Linked DNA regions of Homo sapiens: regions 1, 2, 3, 4, 5 and 6 are each linked to region 7. Evidence: promoter capture Hi-C in 16 types of primary human blood cells and fetal thymus (Javierre and others, 2016). All regions are on one chromosome and are shown on one strand. The core of a region is centred on a gene start or on the middle of the fragment in contact, and the rest is flanking DNA. Distances in the headings are between cores, read along the strand shown.

Evidence for each region. The method cuts DNA at HindIII sites, captures the fragments that hold promoters and counts their contacts. A CHiCAGO score of 5 or more calls a contact.
Region 1: a contact is called between a fragment that was not itself captured here and the fragment with the promoter of GKN2 in region 7, in 3 of 17 cell types (megakaryocytes, M1 macrophages and M2 macrophages). The highest score is 6.1, in megakaryocytes.
Region 2: a contact is called between a fragment that was not itself captured here and the fragment with the promoter of GKN2 in region 7, in 6 of 17 cell types (M2 macrophages, M1 macrophages, megakaryocytes and 3 more). The highest score is 8.5, in M2 macrophages.
Region 3: a fragment that was not itself captured here is called in contact with the fragment with the promoter of GKN2 in region 7 in 7 of 17 cell types (total CD4 T cells, activated CD4 T cells, total CD8 T cells and 4 more); the score reaches 8.7 in total CD4 T cells.
Region 4: a contact is called between a fragment that was not itself captured here and the fragment with the promoter of GKN2 in region 7, in 7 of 17 cell types (non-activated CD4 T cells, activated CD4 T cells, naive CD4 T cells and 4 more). The highest score is 10.6, in non-activated CD4 T cells.
Region 5: a fragment that was not itself captured here is called in contact with the fragment with the promoter of GKN2 in region 7 in 3 of 17 cell types (activated CD4 T cells, total CD8 T cells and naive CD4 T cells); the score reaches 9.7 in activated CD4 T cells.
Region 6: a fragment that was not itself captured here is called in contact with the fragment with the promoter of GKN2 in region 7 in 5 of 17 cell types (activated CD4 T cells, non-activated CD4 T cells, naive CD4 T cells and 2 more); the score reaches 7.6 in activated CD4 T cells.

What each region holds. Positions count from the first base shown.
Region 1 is chr2:69,288,284-69,290,983 of GRCh38, forward strand. It overlaps LOC124907821 (a long non-coding RNA gene), which reads left to right. Exons shown (of 2, transcript XR_007086810.1): 2 at 1,212-1,593. Among named protein-coding and RNA genes, the nearest start is that of GFPT1, 98 kb to the right of the region's middle. The HindIII fragment of the contact is 4,347 bases long and covers 1-2,700 here.
Region 2 is chr2:69,324,920-69,327,755 of GRCh38, forward strand. GFPT1 (glutamine--fructose-6-phosphate transaminase 1) reads right to left here. Exons shown (of 20, transcript NM_001244710.2): 19 at 1,995-2,156; 20 at 1-1,314. The coding sequence ends at 1,270. Among named protein-coding and RNA genes, the nearest start is that of GFPT1, 61 kb to the right of the region's middle. The HindIII fragment of the contact is 9,540 bases long and covers 1-2,836 here.
Region 3 is chr2:68,573,311-68,576,010 of GRCh38, forward strand. The region is part of intron 9 of APLF (aprataxin and PNKP like factor); the gene reads left to right. Among named protein-coding and RNA genes, the nearest start is that of PROKR1, 69 kb to the right of the region's middle. The HindIII fragment of the contact is 1,101 bases long and covers 789-1,889 here.
Region 4 is chr2:68,624,840-68,627,539 of GRCh38, forward strand. It overlaps the pseudogene LOC100379290. Among named protein-coding and RNA genes, the nearest start is that of PROKR1, 17 kb to the right of the region's middle. The HindIII fragment of the contact is 3,535 bases long and covers 1-2,700 here.
Region 5 is chr2:68,591,315-68,594,014 of GRCh38, forward strand. No RefSeq gene overlaps it. Among named protein-coding and RNA genes, the nearest start is that of PROKR1, 51 kb to the right of the region's middle. The HindIII fragment of the contact is 1,729 bases long and covers 422-2,150 here.
Region 6 is chr2:68,607,890-68,610,589 of GRCh38, forward strand. No RefSeq gene overlaps it. Among named protein-coding and RNA genes, the nearest start is that of PROKR1, 34 kb to the right of the region's middle. The HindIII fragment of the contact is 3,272 bases long and covers 1-2,700 here.
Region 7 is chr2:68,951,560-68,954,262 of GRCh38, forward strand. It overlaps GKN2 (gastrokine 2), which reads right to left and starts at 1,334. Exons shown (of 6, transcript NM_182536.3): 1 at 1,291-1,334. The coding sequence starts at 1,302. The HindIII fragment of the contact is 766 bases long and covers 1,173-1,938 here.

The DNA of each region.
Region 1 (2,700 bases), core at 10-2,509, 340 kb after region 7:
ATTAGTCTATATTTTCTTAACATTTCAAAATTTTACATTCTATAGATTTTAATCCAGCTGGAATTGTGTATATATGCATGTGCACACATGTGTTACGTATAGTGAGGTGGGAATCCTATTTTTTCTTTTTTCATAGTTTATTGTTCAAGACCAATTTATTATTCTTTCTTCATACTGCTTTGAATGCTACTTGTGTCATAAACCAAATTCTTAATATACATAAGTCTTTTTCTACACTCTCCAGGCTGTCCCATTGGTAGCTTTTACTATTTCTATGCCAATATTACACTGTTTAACTTTCTATAGCTTGCAAAATTTTTTGAAATCTGAGGGCGTATTTCTCATTATCAGCATTATTATGATTAAGATTTTTGAAATTTATAACTGTTTCCTCTTTTATATGAATTTTTGGACCTATTTTGTCAAGTTCTGTGAAAAACTCTCTTGGACATTTTTGTTAGAATTGAATTAACTTTAATTTGATTTGGACAAAAATTGACATTTTATGTACAAAGACTTTTTATCCATGAATATATTTTGTCTCCCAACTACCTGGTCTTGTTTCATGTCTTTCAAAAAATTGTTTTCACCTTTTCTTTAAAGGTCTTATCCTCATATTTCTTTCTAGAAGTTCATAGTGTTTTTATTTTTTATTGATATATAATAGATGTGCATATTCAGTTTTTGTTGTTGCTATTGTTGTTTTAAATGTATTTTAAGTAAATTTTCTAAATTTTGCTACTGATTTTTTTGGTTTTATTGTCATTGTTGCTTTGAGACAATGTCTCGCTCTGTCACCCAGGCTGGAGTGCAGCAGTGCAATCACAGCTCACTGCAGCCTTGATCTCCTGGGCTCAAGCCATCCTCCCACCCCAGCCCCCTGAGTAGCTGGGACCACAGGCACATGCTACCATGTCTGGCTAATTTTGTTTTGTGGGTTTTTTTTTTTGTAGAAACGGGGTTTCACCATGTTGTCCAGGCTGGTCTTGAACTCCTGGGTTCAAGCAATCCACTTTCCTCAGCCTCCCAAAGTGATGGGATTACAGACGTGAGCCACTCCTAGCCTTTACTGATTATTTTGTATATTGCTCATTTCCAGTAACCTTACTAAACATTCTTGTTATTTCTAATATTTTACCTGTAGGTTCTCATAAATGTTCTATTTTGGCCATCAAATAATCTCAAATAATGATAATTTTTTTTCTTTTCAGCTTTTTCTTTTTTCTACAACCATGACAATCCCAACTCAGCTCATAGGGACTAACAAGAAAGTGGACTCTACAGTCTCTATAGCAACACTGGAGTGGAGGAGGCAAGCTAACTCTAAGTTGTTATGTTGATGGTGGCTGATCATCAGGCATGTTTAGTACCAAAGTTCTCGAACATGTATGCTTGAATGTACACCCTACATGATTTCTTTGTAATGTTCTTTTTCCATCCCATGACTCCACCCAAATTCTCCACTCACTATCTCCCACTGTATGGTTTTATGGGGCTGCTCATCCAAGGACCGTACTGGTACAGTATTCTCAATTCCTTCCATTATCATATTGTTATAATAAAAATGTTATTTTTGTATCCTAGGTAACCCAATTTGGTGTCTGCATTGTTTTTCCTTCATGATAATCCTAATGCCAGCTGGCATATTTTATAAGGGTATATAAACTGTACTAAGTTCAGTGGGCTGACATACGCAAGAACAAGATGTAAGCATTCTGTTTTCTCTTTCCAAGACCTGTATTTTGGAATTTTTTACTTTGAGTTGCTTTTTTTAGGGACTGGTGGAGGTGTTGTTGAATTGTTGGTGTTGTTGTATGTTTGTGTTTTATTTTGGTGACAACCTGTTATCCTCAGTTTTAGTCTACTTATTTCTGAAATCTGAACATAAACACAAATATGTTTCATTGTCAGTGTTACTCCCATTCCTTTTCATAATGTATTATTCTTTCATTGTGGCTTTTTTGTTTTTTATTTATTTGTTGAAACAGAGTCTTGCTCTCTTGTCCAGGCTGGAGTGCAGTGGCACAATCACAGCTCCTTGCAGCCTTGACCTCCTGGGCTCAAGCGACCCTCCCATGTCAGCCTACTGAGTCGCTGGGACTACAGGTATATACCACAACACCAGCTAGTTTTTTATTTTTTGTAGAGGCAGGGCCTCCATATGTCACCCAGACTGGTCTCAAACTTCTGGGCTCAATTGATCCTCCTGCCTCCTGCCTCAATCTCCCAAAGTGCCGGGATTATAGGTGTGAGCCACCACACCCAGCCTGTGTATCTCTTTAATCATTTAAACATCCCTATCTTTGATGGTCTCTTTCAAATTGTTTTTCTATGATCTAGGGTTTGAGGTTGCTGACCTCCCTACAAGTGTCTGAAAACTCTTGTTTATGGTGGGTCTATCAGATATATTGTAATTTTTTACTGAACGCTCATCTTCAACTGAGCTTGATTTTTCGATGGAAATCTTTTATGACCAGAGTGATTTTCCATCTATGTCAGCATGTATCCTCAGCAGTAACATACACAGGCCCACTCTTCACGTGCATCTCTTAATTTATGATGTTCATAACTCACAGACAGTATAAATTCAGTCTTCCAACCTCTCAAAGCATATACTTGGGATTTTACTTTCTCACAAAAGGATTTTATTTTTTCACCCAGAACCTAAGCACAAGCAAACTTTCTTGGCATCTTCCCAAT
Region 2 (2,836 bases), core at 307-2,806, 370 kb after region 7:
TTCTGACACTTACAAGCTGAACATACCCCAATATCACTTTATTTATATCTTCTTTATTCCTAAATATATTTCAGGGGTAGAGCACAGAAAATACAGAAGAGGAAAAATACTTAGGATACAATACTAAATTTGGTGCCTATCAGTGTAAAGCATACATACCTTTTTCTGAGCTTAGCCTACCACATATACTTAGAGTGAAATGATGAGGTCAGCGACCTGCAAATCTTCCAAACAATTGCAAGTAACTTCCAAACTGGCACTAAGGGACTAGTTTTATGCAACAATGTAATGAAGGAAAGTTAAAATTAACTACAGGAAATTCTTCCTCGTGACAAAGTTGAAGAGAATACTGAATATATCAATATTAATTTAATAGCAGCTCTGTGTTGTGATTTTAAAGAACAAGATAAAATATGTCATTCAGCAGTCATTTAAAAAATAAAAGACTACAGATACAAGGAAATAAAAACCACTTTTAGGAGATGAAAACACAAAGTAGTAGGATACCCAACATGTACACATCCCATCTTCAAATTTAAAATCATATTGTCAGTTGTCCAAAGCAGCTTGAATTTAAAGTTTGTGCTATAAAATTGTGCAAATATGTTAAGGATTGAGACCCACCAATGCACTACTGTAATATTTCGCTTCCTAAATTTCTTCCACCTACAGATAATAGACAACAAGTCTGAGAAACTAAGGCTAACCAAACTTAGATATAAATCCTACCAATAAAATTTTTCAGTTTTAAGTTTTACAGTTTGATTTAAAAACAAAACAGAAACAAATTTCAAAATAAATCACATCTTCTCTTAAAACTTGGCAAACCCTTCCCTAACTGTCCAAGTATGAGCATACACTGCCACTGGCTTTAGATACTCCAATTAAATGCACTACTCTTTCACTGGTCTGAATGAAGTATGGTGAAACAAGTACCAATTTTTAGAAACATATTGTCTTCTCAGATTGAAGTGGAGGGTCCAGAAATGCAACACCCAGCATTCTTTAAAGAAAATAATAGCTAGAATCTTTCTGATACAGATTCCAATATAGATTCCATTATTCAAAGTCCTCCACAAATTACTGGGAAAATGTAAGAGGTAACTTCACAAAAATCACATATTGAGTGGAATAATTATAACTGATATATAAATAAGGATTTACTAAAAAAAGGCTTCAAGGGGTGATATTTTAAATCAAGGTTTTAAATACAAAAGGTGTCTTGTGTTGCTTAATCATACAGTTTCGTACATTTTGTATAGATATTCCTCACTCTACAGTCACAGATTTGGCAAGATTCCGTGGGAAATCAACCTGCAAAAAGAAAAAAAAAAAAAGCAAGATTTGAGAGATTATATAGACTGGGGAAGGGGGTGGTTACTATAAGCAAATTATTTTTGTTTATAAAAACAGAAAACAATACATTCATTAACCATCTTTATTACAGACTACAAAGAATTAGATTAGAAAATATAATCACATAATGTGTCCTGAAAAAAACTGAAATTGGTTAGGAAAAAGCATTCTAAAGGTGCCAGTTCACACAGAAAGAGCTACTGTGGTCCTCTACAGAAGTAGTAGCCCTCATAGGGGACACTAAAAACAAAAGCACTATGTTTTGGTTGCCACAATGGCTGAGAAACCAGGAATGCTACAAAGTCTTCAATGTGTGGGACAGTTCCAAACAAAAAAGAATTGTCCTGCCAAATGCCAATAGCTGCCCTGTTAAGAGATAGAGGTTATATTAAGAAAACAGGTGGAGACTACCCAAGGTGAGTCACAATCTTGGAGGTGAACCCCAAGGTTCCTTCAAGTTCTATGGGTAAGAAGATGTTGTGATGTAACCTACAAATTGGGCCATGAAAATATAACAGGTGACAGATATATATTTGATAGATTTCTCAAACACTATTGTTAAAAATTTAGGAGAAAAAAATCAGAATGTATCCAGGTAAAAAACCATCCCAAGATTTCTGCAGTGGTAGATGACTTACATCATAGCCTCTCAGCACAGCAAGGTGGAAAGCCAGCAACTGTAAAGGGATCACGCTGAGAATGCCCTGCAAGCAGTCCACTGAGTGGGGCACCTTGATCGTTCTTTTTGTGTTCTTAATGGTCTCAGTATCCTCCTTATCACAAATTACCACAGGCCGCCCCTAGGAAAGAAAATCACACACATACACAACATCACTGGTGGGCAAAGGCAGGGCTATAGCTTACGAATGTGCAAAAATTGCACTGCATAATCCATATGAAGCCTCACGGACAGACTTCTTTAAATTCCTGTGTAGTAAATCTGATTGTTATTACTTATAGTCGAGGAAACAGAAGCGTTATGGGATCCAGTAATTTGTTTAAACTCATGCAACTAAGAAATACCAGGCTTAGTACTTGACTGCAGGTTTGCCTAACTTCAAAGCTCAAGTTCATTACCACCACATTGTGCTTAGGGAATAATATCTTTTGGAATTTATATATAAAGCCAACTGATCTGAAGAAAACTCAATTATATAATATTAAAATAAAACCTAGATGTTAGATTTCCCCTGAAATATATCGCGTGTGTGTAATTTTTTTTAATTTATTTTATTTACTGTTTTAGAGACAGGGTCTCACTATGCTACCCAGGCTGTATTCAAACTCCTGGACTCAAGTGATCCTCCTGCCTCAGTCCCCAGAGTAGCTGGGACTACAGTCATGTGCCACTGCAACCAGCTGAAATATATATTTAAAAATATTTTAAAATACATTTTTAAATGTTTTAGAAGTATTAAATTAAAAAGGAACAGCATATGTTAACTAAAAGAAGACAGGATGTGGAGACCAAGACCTCAGT
Region 3 (2,700 bases), core at 89-2,588, 380 kb before region 7:
GCCTTAAAATTAGAACTCTGGAGTTAGAAATATCTTTGTGATCATTTAATGTTTGATGTGTAGTTTAAAAAGTAATTTCCGGCCAGGCACAGTGGCTCACACCTGTAATCCTAGCACTTTGGGGGGCCGAGGCGGGTGGATCACCTGAGGTCAGGAGTTCAAGACCAGCCTGACCAAAATGGTGGAACCCCATCTCTACTAAAAATACAAAAAGTAGCTGGGCGTGGTGGCGGGGGCCTGTAATCCCAGCTACTCAGGAGGCTGAGGCAGGAGAATCGTTTGAACCCGGGAGACAGAGGTTGCAGTGAGCCGAGATTGTGCCATTGCACTCCAGCCTGGGCAACAAAGCGAGACCTTGTCTCAAAAAAAAAAAAAAAAAAAGTAATTTCCATTAGGTTAAGTGACTTGTTCATTGTCATGAGTTCATTTATAACACAGATAGTTGGACTTCTAACCCCTGGTCTAGTCCTCTTTCTCTTAAACTGTGCTATTTTAAAGAGTCTTTTTGTTGGGTAAGATGTGAATGCACATTATCACATAACATGTCCTAATGATATCTCAATAAGACAGTTTCCTTTCAGATTCAGAAATCACTTAACAGCTTTACAATAAAAACAGATAAAAAGCCGGAACAACTTCAGGTTCTCATAGACAATCAAATGAGAGCAGCAGTAACTAGCAGGAAGAAATTTATAAGCATTCTAGGCAAAAATAGAGAAAAGACTTATTTCTTTCAAGTTTACCTGGACTTAGAAGTGTTAACCCAAATTAAAAAAAAAAAAAAAGGAAGCTTTCTAAGATAAATTTACTTGGGAATATTGTAATGAGAATACGTGTGTTATTGTAAAAATCAGTATTCAGAGTATTTTCCAGGTAAGTAAAGTTTAATTTTTTTTTTTGGCCCAGTTACACTGAAAGGCAGAATTGGATATTTCTCTAAAAACACCTTCAGACTCTACTAGCAATTTTTTAAAAAGGAAAGTCATCTAGGTAGCATTTGTTTTATATAACATTTAAAGTTATTAATTGAATTTTCCACAGTATAATCTATTAAATAATTGGTCCCACAAAGATAATCACATGTCAGCATTTATAACCCTGTTATGAAGGATCTGTGTGACACCACTAACAGGACACAGAGCTGAATTCTAGAGCTGACTTTGTGCTCATGTCATGACTTGGCTCTTCAAGTGTTTTCACTTAAAGTATAAAAGTACCTGTTCATGTGAGTTAAGGTGGATTACATTTGGCTACTAGCCACGTTGAATTCTGTTACAGATGGTTTTGTTAGATTCTGGACTTCCTGTAAGAAGAACATGAATGTGTAAAGGTAAACATAAAATGTAAGTGATGACAGATATAAACTTTTTTCTGAGTAAACAAACAAAATTCTTCCGATTAATGTGGTCTTACTGCCTCAACAAATGAGGCTTCTTAATAAGTTGCTAAATATTTCCAGGGTTCACTGAGGCTTCATTTAGCAGAATTAAAGTCTTTTATGTAATTCATTATATTGACTGGCAGGCTAGTGATCAAAAGTGTAGGCTAAAATAAGAGTTTCTGTAAAACTAAAGATGTTCAGTAGTTGATTTGCAAATGGTTCATTTATTCATTCATTGATATATTCAACAAATATATTTATTAAGTGCTCCCACATGTTAAGCGCTGTTGTCTGAGCTAAGGACACAGTAGAAACAAAGCCCTGCTCTTGCAGAATTGTACACAGATGGGCAGTGGACACACAAGCAATTATTTGTTGTCATGTGTTGATAATTAGAAGAAAAATAAGCTGTGTAGGAGGACAGAATAGCAAGGGTGTGTACATGGTATGGGGAATGCCATGTCAGGATGGTAAAAGAAGCACTCTGATAATTTGACATTGGAGCCAAAGCTTGGAGGAGGGAGCAAGCCAGGTGATTATCTAAGGAAGAATATGCCAGGCGTTGGGAATCATGAATTTAAAATCCCTGGTGATGACCATGCTTGGACTGTTCTAGGAATAGCAAAGAGCAAATAGAATTGGAACAGTGTGAGTAAACAGAATGGCATAGGATGAGATCAGAAAACTACCAGTGGGCTAGTTGAGTAGAGTCTTCAAAGCTGAGACCTGTAAATAAAGACTTTAGATTTTATTTAGAGTGAGACAGAAAGCTATTGGAAGGTTTTCTGACTTTTTTTTGTGAAGAATAGACTAGAATGGAAGCAAGAGAGCCAGTTAGGAGGATATTGTATTCAGGAAGAAAATGATAGTATTGGGGCCAGGGCATTAGAGTGGATGTGATCAGAAGTGGTGGATTTACTTTGCAGGTAAAGCTAACAGGATCTCTTGAGGTATTAGATGTTGGGTTCTCGGTGAGGGATATTAAAGGATGACTACAAGATTTCTTGCTAAAACAACTAGATGGTTGGATGATTAGAGAAGTCATATATTCAAGACTGATAAATAGAATGACCAGATCTGGGTAAAGCAACTAAAGAGTTATGTTCTGGAAATGTTATATTCCAGGTGCCTGTAAGTCATCCAAGTACAGATAATGCTTAAGTATCCAGATAAATGAGTCTGGAATTCAGGGCAGTAGGTCAGGGCTTAAGATGTGAATTTGGGAATTTAGGACATAAGACTGGATGGAATCATCTAAGGAGTGAGTTAGAGAAGAGGTTCCAGCTCTAAAATTTAGAGATTAGGATGATGAGGAAAAT
Region 4 (2,700 bases), core at 27-2,526, 330 kb before region 7:
CCTGCCTCAGCCTTCTGAGTAGCTGGGACTATGCCACATGCCACCACACCTGGTTAGTTTTTGTATTTTTAGTAGAGACGGGGTTTCACCATGTTAGCCAGGATGGTCTCGATCTCTTGACCTTGTGATCCACCTGCCTTGGCCTCCCAAAGTGCTGGGATTACAGGTGTGAGCCACCACGCCTGGCCCTTACCTAGTTTTTTTTGAATAAGTTCTTATATTACTCAATCTCTGGCTAATTTCCAGAGTTCCAAAAAAGTTAATGTTGAAAGATTTTGACAGTTTATTTTTTGTTGCTTTCATAGGGGGCAAAACTCCTGAGTTTCTTACTCTGCCATTTTTCCTGATGTTCTATTTAATCTTGAATAATCATACTCACACTGGATTTTTGAGGATGTTCTGCAGTATTTCAAACACTTTCATATCCATCTTCTCATTTTATTCTTATAGTAAACTTTGTAGCTGAGAAGTAAACATCCCTTTTATGGAGGAGAAATGTAAGGTGTCCTGCAGGCAGTTACTCTGTCTTCTGTGTGCCCCAGCTTCTCTATCATATCATCCCATTAATTTAGATTAATTTTTTATAGCTAGACAATAAACTCCAAACAGAATAGATAATGTTATTGTCTCCTTGAGACCAAGCACATAGCATAGCTTTTATTCTAGAACAGAGTACATGTTTTGGAATTTAAAAATGAATAAAAAATAAAGTTTAATGTTTAAGACCTCTTTCCTGATGAAATAATTTGTGTCCTGCAGTGTTAGACCTGAAAGTGTCCTCAGGGGCTACATGGGGAGGAAATAGATTGCACAGGACTTAGCTTCCTATCTCAATGTTTCAACAGAACCATTCCCCCTTTAGTCATCTCTCTCCTAATGTTCATTTGACAAATATTAATGGAGCTCCTACTATGAGTCTGGCCTGATAAAAGAAGTTACAAAGAGAAATTAGGAAAGCAGAGACCTTGTCATGGAATTTACATTGATGAGAGAGAAAATAAAAATGAAAAAACATATAATTTCAAGTGGAAATAAATGATAAAAAAATAAAGCAGAACAAGGTAGGAAGGCACTGGGGAACACAAAATGATTTTAGATAGGGTTATCAGAGGTGTCCTCTCTGAGGTGATATTTAAGCAAAGATATGAATGAAATGAAGGTCAGGTCATCTGAAGATATGGGGGAAATGTTCCAAGCAGGGGAAGCAGCAGGTGGCAAGACCCTGAGTTGGGAGTGAGTTAGCATGATTCAGGAATGACAAGACCACAGTGGCAGAGGTGGGATGAACAAGGGCAGAGTGCCATAGGAGAGAGTGGTAGAGATCAACATGGTGGGGCCATGCCGTATTTTGCAAGTCAGTGCTGCTACGTTAGATTTGTCTTGAACAAATAGTATTTTGGCTAAAGTAAAAGTTTGAAAAGCACAAATTTTATGTTAAAATTTATTATTATATATTTACTTGCTCCTTCCTTCCCTTTCTCCTTGTCTCCCTCCCTCTCACCTTTCCTTCCTTCCTCCCTCCCTTCCTCCCTCCTTCCCTCCCTCCCTTCCTTCCTTCTTTCCTTCCTTCCTTCTTTCCTTCCTTCCCTCCCTCCCTCCCTCCCTTCTGTTCTTTTCTTTCTTTTTATTTATCTTCCCTACCAACAGAGTCTAGATCATGTCTTCTTTACCTGTGATTAACACAGGACCTGGCACATAGAGGGTAATCAAATGATATTTTTCTGAATGAGTGAGAAAATTGAGACCCAGAGAGGCCAAGTAGCATTTTTAAGGCCACCCAGATAGTGACAGAACAAAATCCAGATTTGTGTTTAGCTCATCTTCTGTCACTTTACCACATCAGTTGCATGGAATTAAAAACAGATCCAAAGATTTTATAATTAGTGTATGTGGTTTGTTTTCTGTTACTGACTCCAAGTATAATCTAGTCACACAATCACACGGCTAAGACATTAGTGAAAGACGATTATTGTTTCATTGGGTTAAGGAGAAAGGTTTCCTGGTGACAGTTAGCATCAAAGATATACTGTGTTATAAAGAACCACAGGGTGTGATTGAGGTAGGATGGAGGAGGGACTGCTCTATTGGTACAGTGTCCTGTATCAGGGAGGGATAGTTTGGTTGCAGTCTTTCCTTAATTAGAGGAGGAGAGATAAGGGGAAAATATCATCAAGAAAATGAAAAGTTTTCAAAGTAGAAAATGCCACATTTTCTACTTTGCAGATGCAAAGGCCAGGAAGCAGACAGAGTCAGAAAACAAATTGTCTAGAATGACCCATAGTGCTCTGGAGTACTTTAATGTGATTGGCCAAGGCTTGAAGCATCTCTTCTGGCAGCAGCCCAAGAAGTCATCCATGTCTCCATGTGATGTGCAGAAAATTCAGGCAGATCCAGAACCTGAAATAGATCTGGAAAGCCAGAACACATGTGCTGAGACTGAGAGTAGCCCCACCTCCCACCCCACAGCTCTGAATCAGTTCCTGCAACAAATCCAAGTACCATTCAAGATGAAGACAAGACAAATTTTTATGGCAGGCAGGGCAAGCCAGAGGCCTCAAAGGAAAGTCTCAAAATCAGTAGGGTATACGGCCAGGATATGGCAGCTATCAAGCAGTCAAGCCAACCTAGGTTTTCTTCATCTGTGACTAATGCTCCTACCAGCTCAGCTGTGGTGGAAATAGCTTGTGCTGCTGCTACATG
Region 5 (2,700 bases), core at 36-2,535, 360 kb before region 7:
ACTTCAGTTTATATGTAACAGGCAATGAATACATGAGGCCACCAGACTCAGCTTCTGAGCCCAAGTCAGACCTGATACTCAATGGAGGTGACGTGGAAAAGAGAGTGCAGCCAGGTCCCACCGAGGGGCAGATCACAGATAACTTCCATCAGAGTTCGCCCAAAGAAGGAGCTGACTCCACCCTTGCCAAAAATGTTAACCTGAATCTAATTAAGCCTTTAAACCTAACTCCCAGGATACATGTAAAAATGGTAAAAAGTAGCAAGTTGAAGAGGCAAGGGGATTTACCCTCACTCTCCTAACAATGGCCTCCAACCCTCATATCTTACCATGAGGAAGGGAGTTTTATGTTGGAGGAGGCTGGAACTGGGGCAAGGCTGGATACTGCTGTACTGGAGGTTCCTGTCACCCATGTGAGATAAGCTTGGGTGACACATTGCTCACCTCAGTGTAGCTCTTTGGGTAACAGAGTCTCTTGAGTGTCCACCAACAGAGAGACTTTCTCTTAAGTGAGCCCCAGATTCCCAGTGCCCAGACTCCTGAGAGTGGGTTCTGTTCTGGCCTATAAAAGAAATTAGGAAATTGGAGATGGAAGAAAGGGAAGGAAGTAGGGGATTGTCCAGAGGTCAAGAGATGTCATTCTCCTCTAAAGTATCCTCAACAGATTTCAGTTGCCAACAGCAATCTTTCCCAAATGGAATTCTGATTCTATAGATATTTATAGGTGAGGCTTAAAAAGGGTACCATGATGAAATTAATTTTGAAATGCGGAATTAAATGGGTTTGTTGCTTTGAGACTTGACATAGCCTTGCATAAGCAAATGTGTCCTGTGAGTCTTTAAAACTGGGTTTATATATCTACTGTTTCTAAAACTTATATAACCATGAATTTTTTTCTGGGGCATTCTGAAAATTCTGAAATACTCATTCACTCATTCATTCAACACATACTTGTTGAGCAGCTGGAACTGCCACAGACATTGTTCTTGGCATAGAAGATGCAGAGATGAATGAGACAACGTTCTTTCCCAAATGGAGTTTATAGTATAATGAGATAACAGGAAATACACCAACAAAATAGAGACTACGATAGGTGTAATAAGTGCTATAGAAATAAAGCAGGGGAAAAGCATAGAGAATGGTGGGGTGGGAGCTTGCGATAGGTGTGAGGGGTGGTGGCTGTTTTAGATCCGTGGTCAGGAAAGGCCTCCCTGAGGAGTGATGTGTGAATACAGACCTGAGTGAACAAGGCAGTGGCCAGGAGAAGGTGTAGGAAGAGAGTATACCAAACGGAGCTGACAAGTACAAAGGCCACGGGCAGGAAGGAGCCTGGGGAGTTCCAGAAACAGCAGGAAAACTAGAGTGCTTATGGTAGAAGGATCAAGGTGGAGAGGAGGGGTGGGAGAGGGCTTCCTCTGGTAGAAGTAGGCAGGAGCCAGATTGTGTAGGGCTAGATCATGGGAATGTTCAGAGAAGAGGTGAGCATTTAGGGGATTTTGCAAATGACAGGCTGTGAGTTACAAAGGTCAAGAGTTTAGGGTTGTGAAGGAGTGAGAAACTGAGTCATATTTGTATACCTGTTGAACACACAGGTATAAGATAATAGATGAGGAATAAGTGAACTGGCATCTTGGATCCTGGTGGTGACTGAAGCAAACGGGTGACAGCATGTTGGGATAAGTTGTGATACAGGGTACTGAGCTCTCATTGCAGCTTCCAACCTGGATTTGTCCGTGGGCAGCCAAGGCTTGGGGCATCCTGAAGGCAGGGAAGAGGAAGTATTACCAAGGACATCTAGAGCTCTTCAGGGCTCCCTAACTTCTAGCTGACAGCCCTGTCTCAATAGGGAAGAAGTGGTCATGTTAGAAGTGTCACCGATGGTCTACTTTTCTTGAGGGAATGGGCTGTGTTCTCTTTTTCTCACATAATACCTAGCCCAGTGCTATATACATGTCTGATTATCTGTAAATATTTGTTCTACTAAACTAAATGTATATCTTGTGACTTTGAGAAAATGAATATTCTAGAAGAGAAAGTGAGTTACACTATAACCAACAAAATCCAAGCCCATGTCAGCTGAATAATAAATCCATACATGGGAAGCATAAACATTTCTATCATAACCATTAATAGCACTCAAATTATTAAAAAGCTTAAAAAGAACTCCAAGTGGAAATGATGAAGATTGTACATGCATGTTAATGAAATGTGTCATTACATATGCTGATATGTGTCTAAAGGAGAGATAGAAACTTAAAAATAAGACTTTCTTTGGTATTAAGTATACATTTGCATCTTTGTTTTCTGTTTTTAGTTATATCATTTTAATTTAATTCAATATAATTTAAAAATCATTTTTTCTTTATGACCATCGTTATCCTGAAAAAAATTAAAGGCTATTGAAAATGTAATTAATCATGACCTTTAGGTAGTTTCCTGAATTGATGAACTTTTCTATATTGCTCATTAACCCCGTGTCAGACAGTAAGCCCTGATGGTATTTCTGTACCATCATGGTCACTGGAAAATATGTATTGGAAGAAAGTAGTAAAGATATCATAATCATTTAATTTTCCTGCTGGAAGAAGCTTTAGAATTCATTGAGAAGCAGTGTTGACCGTAGACGAATGTTGACTATAATTTGAGTCAATGATGAATTCCTTCCTCTACTATAAACCCATGTGTAAACATGGATTTTTC
Region 6 (2,700 bases), core at 11-2,510, 340 kb before region 7:
ATATGCATTTCAATATATTCTTAGAGACTTTCTTTTTTTATAATTTCAGCTTTTATTTTAGATTTGGGGGTATGTGGGTGGATTTGTCAATTGGTATGTTGTGTGATGCTGAGGTCTGAGGTGTGAATGATCCTGTCACTCATGTACTGAGCTGGGTATAATATGTAGTTTTTCAACCTTTGCTCCCTTCCCTCCCTCTGCTAGTAGTCCATAGTGTCTGTTGTTTTGTCCATGTGGATCCAATGTTTAGGTACCACTTATAAATGAGAACATGTGGTATTTGTTTTTTTGTTTCTGTGTTAATTTGCTTAGGATATGGCCTCCAGCTATATCCATGCTCCTGTAAAAGATATTATGTCATTCTTTTTATTGTTGTGTATATTTCATGGTGTATAGAAATAAATATGTACCACATTTTCTTTATCAAATCCACTGTTTATGGGCAACAAGGCTGATTCCATGTCTTTGCTATTGTGAATAGTGCTGCAATGAACACACAAGTGTATGTGTATTTTTGGTATAATGATTTATTTTCCTTTGTGTATATACCCAGTAATGGGACTGCTGGGTTGAATGGTAGTTCTGTTTTAAGTTCTTCAAGAAATCTTCAAACTGCTTTCCACAGCTACTGAACTAATTTACATTCCCACCAATAGTATATAAATGTTCCTTTTCTCCACAGCCTCACCAGCATCTGTTGTTTTTTGACTTTTTAATAATAGGCCTTCTGACTGGTGTGAGATGGTATCTTGTTGTTGTTTCAATTTGCATTTGTCAGATGATTAGTAATGATGAGCATTTAAAAATATATTTATTGGCCACTTGCATTGAGAAGTGATTATTCACGTCTTTCGCACATTTTTAAATGGGGTTGTTTTATTTGTTTTTTGCTTGTTGAATTGTTAAATTTCCTTATAGATTCTGGATATTCCACCTTTGTCAGATGATAGTTTGCAAATATTTTCTCCCATTATGTAGGTTGTCTATTTGCTCTGTTGATAGTTTCTTTTGCTTTACAGAAACTGTTTAGTTTAACTGTCAATTTTTTGTTTTGTTGCAACTGCTTTTGAGGACTTAGTCATAAATTCCTTTCCAAGGCCCATGTTCAGAATGGTATTTCATAGGTTTTCTTCTAGAATTTTTATAGTTCGAGGTCTTATGCTTAAATCATTAATCCATCTTCAGTTTATTTTTGTATATGGTGAAAGGTAAATGTCCAGTTTCATTCTTCTGCATATGGCTAGCTAGGTATCCCAGCACTATTTGTTGAATGGGAAGTCATTTTCCCATTGTTTCTTTTTGTCAGCTTTGTCAAAGATTAGATGGCTGTAGGTAAGTAGCTTTATGACTGGGTTCTCTATTCCAAATTTGAGATCGTTCTAACTTCTTGATGTAAGCATTTAGCACTATAAACTTCTCTCTTAACACTGCTTTTGTTTTCATTGCATTCCAGATATTTTGGTAGTTTATATGGCTATTTTGTACCAGCACCATGCTGTTTTGGTTTCTGTAGCCTTATATACTTTGAAGTTGGGTAATGTGATGCTTTCAGCTTTGTTCTTTTTGTTTAGGATTATCTTGGCTATTGAGGATCTTTTTTGGTTCCATATGAATTTTAGATAGTTTTTTCTAATTCTGTGAAAAATAACATTGGCAGTTTGATAGGAATAGCATTGACTCTGTAGATTGCTTTGTGCAGTTGGACCATTTTAATGATATTCTTTCAATCCATGAGCATGGAATGTCTTTCCATTTGGTAGTGTCATCTGTGATTTCTTTCAGCAGTGTTTTGGATTTCTCCTTGTAGATATATTTTATCTCCTTGGTTTTTGTATTTCTAAGTATTTTATTTTTGGGTGGCTATTGTAATTGAGATTGTATTCTTTATTTGGCTCTCAGCTTGAACATTATTGGTGTCTAGAAATGCTAATGCCTGTTGAAATTGATTTTGTAGCCTGAAACTTTAGTGAGGTCATTTATCGGTTATAGGAGCCTTTTGGTGGAATCTTTAGAGTTTTCTAGGTATAGAATCATATCATCAGCAAAGAGACATATTTTGACTTCTTTTTCTATTTGGATGCTTTTTATTTCTTTCTCTTGTCTTATTGCTCTGGCTAGGACTTCTATTACTATGTTGAATAGGAGTGGTGAGAGAGGGGAGCCTTGTCTTCTTCCTGTTCTTAAGGGGAGTACATTCAGCTTTTGCCCATCCAGTATGATGTTGGCAGTGGGTTTATCATAGATGGCTCTAATTATTTTGAGATAAGTTCCTTTGATGCCTAGTCTGTTGAGCATTCTTATTATGAAGGGATGTTGGATTTTATCAAAAACTTTTCCCTGCATCTATTGAGATAATCATATGGTTTTTGTTTTTAATTTTCTTTTTTTCTTTTTTTTTTTGAGACAGAGTCTCGCTCTGTCACCCAGACTGGAGTGCAGTGGTGCAATCTCAGCTCACTGCAAGCTCCGCCTCCTGGGTTCACGCCATTCTCCTGCCTCAGCCTCCCGAGTAGCTGGGACTACAGGCACCCGCCACCATGCCCAGCTAATGTTTTTGTATTTTTAGTAGAGACAGGGTTTCACTGGAGTGGTGAATCTCAGGCATATGTATAATGAAAACATTCCTCAGGTGATTCTGATGCAAAACTCATTAAAAATCACATTTCTAGAGGTAACAAAATAAACCCTCAGGAACACTCT
Region 7 (2,703 bases), core at 84-2,583:
CTTGGGGAAGGGGGATATTTTTAAGAACTGTCAGTGGGACTTTCCTACTTCCCTTTCCATCCCACCCTTAATATTTCTCTTCTGGGGACTGGGAGTAGAGCATCTAACAAAGACCTGTGTGCTGATATTCAGCCTTCCATAGGGATACATCTTCTCTTACCACAGACCAGCTCCAGCAACATATGATACTCCCGTATATTCTAGTTAATGAGTCTAAAATAGTGGTTTGAACAAGTAGTCGAAGGACTAAACCACTTTAATGGTATGATTAGAGAGAGCTTGGGGAGTGTCCTCTGCCCCAAAATGATCTCCCTTCCAACACTGTGGTTAATACACCATGGTTATATAATACTTTTGTGCTTCAGGGTTAGGTCTCAATTTGGAAAATCAAGACAGCCCTGAGAGAGGGAGCTCTTTAAGCTGATAGTCTTTAACACTTTAGAAAGAGGTACTTAACATTTTGCTTTCTCCCTTAGCAGCTGAATGAGAATAAAGGACAGAGACTAGGGGAGCGAATTCCATTCTAGGTCAGAACATAGCCCACTGTCCATGGGGCACTGCAATGTGGAACTACGGAGGCTGGGATCAGATGGAGGGGTGGAGTGGCCATAGAAGGAACGTTTTGTCCTAAGGGAGAATTTAGTCATAATGAGAGGACATTGAAGACACTCTGGCTGCTTAAATTTGCCATGATTGCGCCTGCAAGTGGGGATTCAGATGGATAAATTACATTCTAAATCCCACATTTACGGGCTTGGGAAAATCACATTCCTCTGCCTCTCAGTCTCCTTATCTGTAAAACGGGGAGAATACTACTCAACTCATAGGGTTGTTGCAATGAATAGATGAAATTATTCATGTGATATGCTTAGTCTAAGGCTTAGTATGCATTTGAGAAATGAGAGGTACTATTATTACTATTACTGATATTATTTTTAAACTACAGCTTCTCTCTTAGATAGCAAATGTAGTTGTTTTAAATAGCCCAAATTCCCTATGAAGCTCATAATAAAGGATTATTATTAAACATCCTCCAAATCAAAATTATCTAGAGATTTCTTTGTATTTTTGAATTTTCTTTTAAGTAAACATCTCAAAACAGGAAAAGGACAAAAAAAGTCAGACTTATTCAACACTATTTCTGCCAAAGATGTCATTAATTCAATCACAGAAGCTTAGAAGCATGCACAGTATCTGTCTAAGACTCCCAAAATCCATGGCATATTAGATATGAGCATTGTCTGCAAGCAGTCACCACAAGAGTATCAAGAAGCAGAAACAAATACTCACAAGTATTTTCATTTTGCCTGGGAGAGGAAGGTGCTGGAGTAAGTAAAGCTGCCCTGTGCAGCTTCTATCCTTTATATGGGCTTGAAGATGTGGATATCTCTTTTTCAAATGATCACTTTGGAAAAGACCATGTCTATATCTCTGACACACCCTAGCAAACTCCTTTATCAGAATTGAGATCCAACCACATACCTGATATCAATGAAGTTCATTAGTCAGTAATGAAAATTCACCACTTGGTCACTCTGTAAATATTCCCTGCTATTTGTACTATGCTGCACTTGACATTTTAATTTCCACCCTTTAAAAATATTGCATGATGCTTGTTCTATGCATACATTTTATAGCTCTACAAGGACAAACTTCTAACATCTCCTCCTAAAGGAAGAGTGCTTCCTTAAGGCCTGAGTTGGGCCCCAACTCAATGTCTTTTCACCACTGTTCTGCTGGCTGAATTCTTCCACAGAGGGAACGGATATGAGACGGGGTGCCAAGACAGTGGCTGGGGAGGCCTGCTTGGAGAACAAACAGCCTAGGACTTTCTTCGTTCTTCCCTTTAGATTTGGTGTCAATTTCCAGAAATTAATGAGGAACAAGACTCAGAAAGCATTCTCCCCAATTACCAAGTTTAACCAAATTTTTACATTAAGCTTCGCCCAAAACTGCACAAAACTGTAAGTTAGAGACCTCTAGTTATCTTGCAGAGTATTAAGAAATTCTTAGATTGAAAAAAAAAAAAAAGAGAGAGAAAGAGAATAAAGTTTAATTTGTGTAATTTTTTTAACATGACAATTAGAAATGGCTAGTTAGTGTCAGGGTATAATCATGAACTCAGGAAGGGAAATTTAAAAACAAAACAAACAACAACAACAACAAAAACAATAAACTGCGGCTGGGCGCAGTGGCTCATGCCTGTAACCCCGGCAATTTGGGAGGCCAAGGCGGGCAGATCACCTGAGGTCAGAAGTTTGAGACCAGCCTGGACAACATGGTGAAACCCCGTCTCTACTATGGTGAAACCCCGTCTCTACTAAAAGTACAAAAAAATTAGCCAGGCGTGATGGTGCTCGCCTGTAGTCCCAGCTACTCAGGAGGCTGAGGCAGGAGAATTGCTTGAACCCGGGAGGCAGAGGTTGCAGTGAGCCAAGATCATGCCACTGCACTCCAGCCTGGGTGATAGAGCAAGATTCCATCTCAAAACAAAACAAAACAAAAAACCCCAGTAAATTGCAAAATTGTAAAATATTGAGAATCACCACAGTAAACAAAGAGATAACATAAATAATGGCCTTGTTCTATAGCTGAAACAACTTTCTAACTTTAGCAGCTTTAAACAAAAATGGGGTTCTCAAAAAGTAGACATCTGGGCAAGTTAAGGGTTACCTAGTTCACTGGAATCTCCCTACCCTGGCT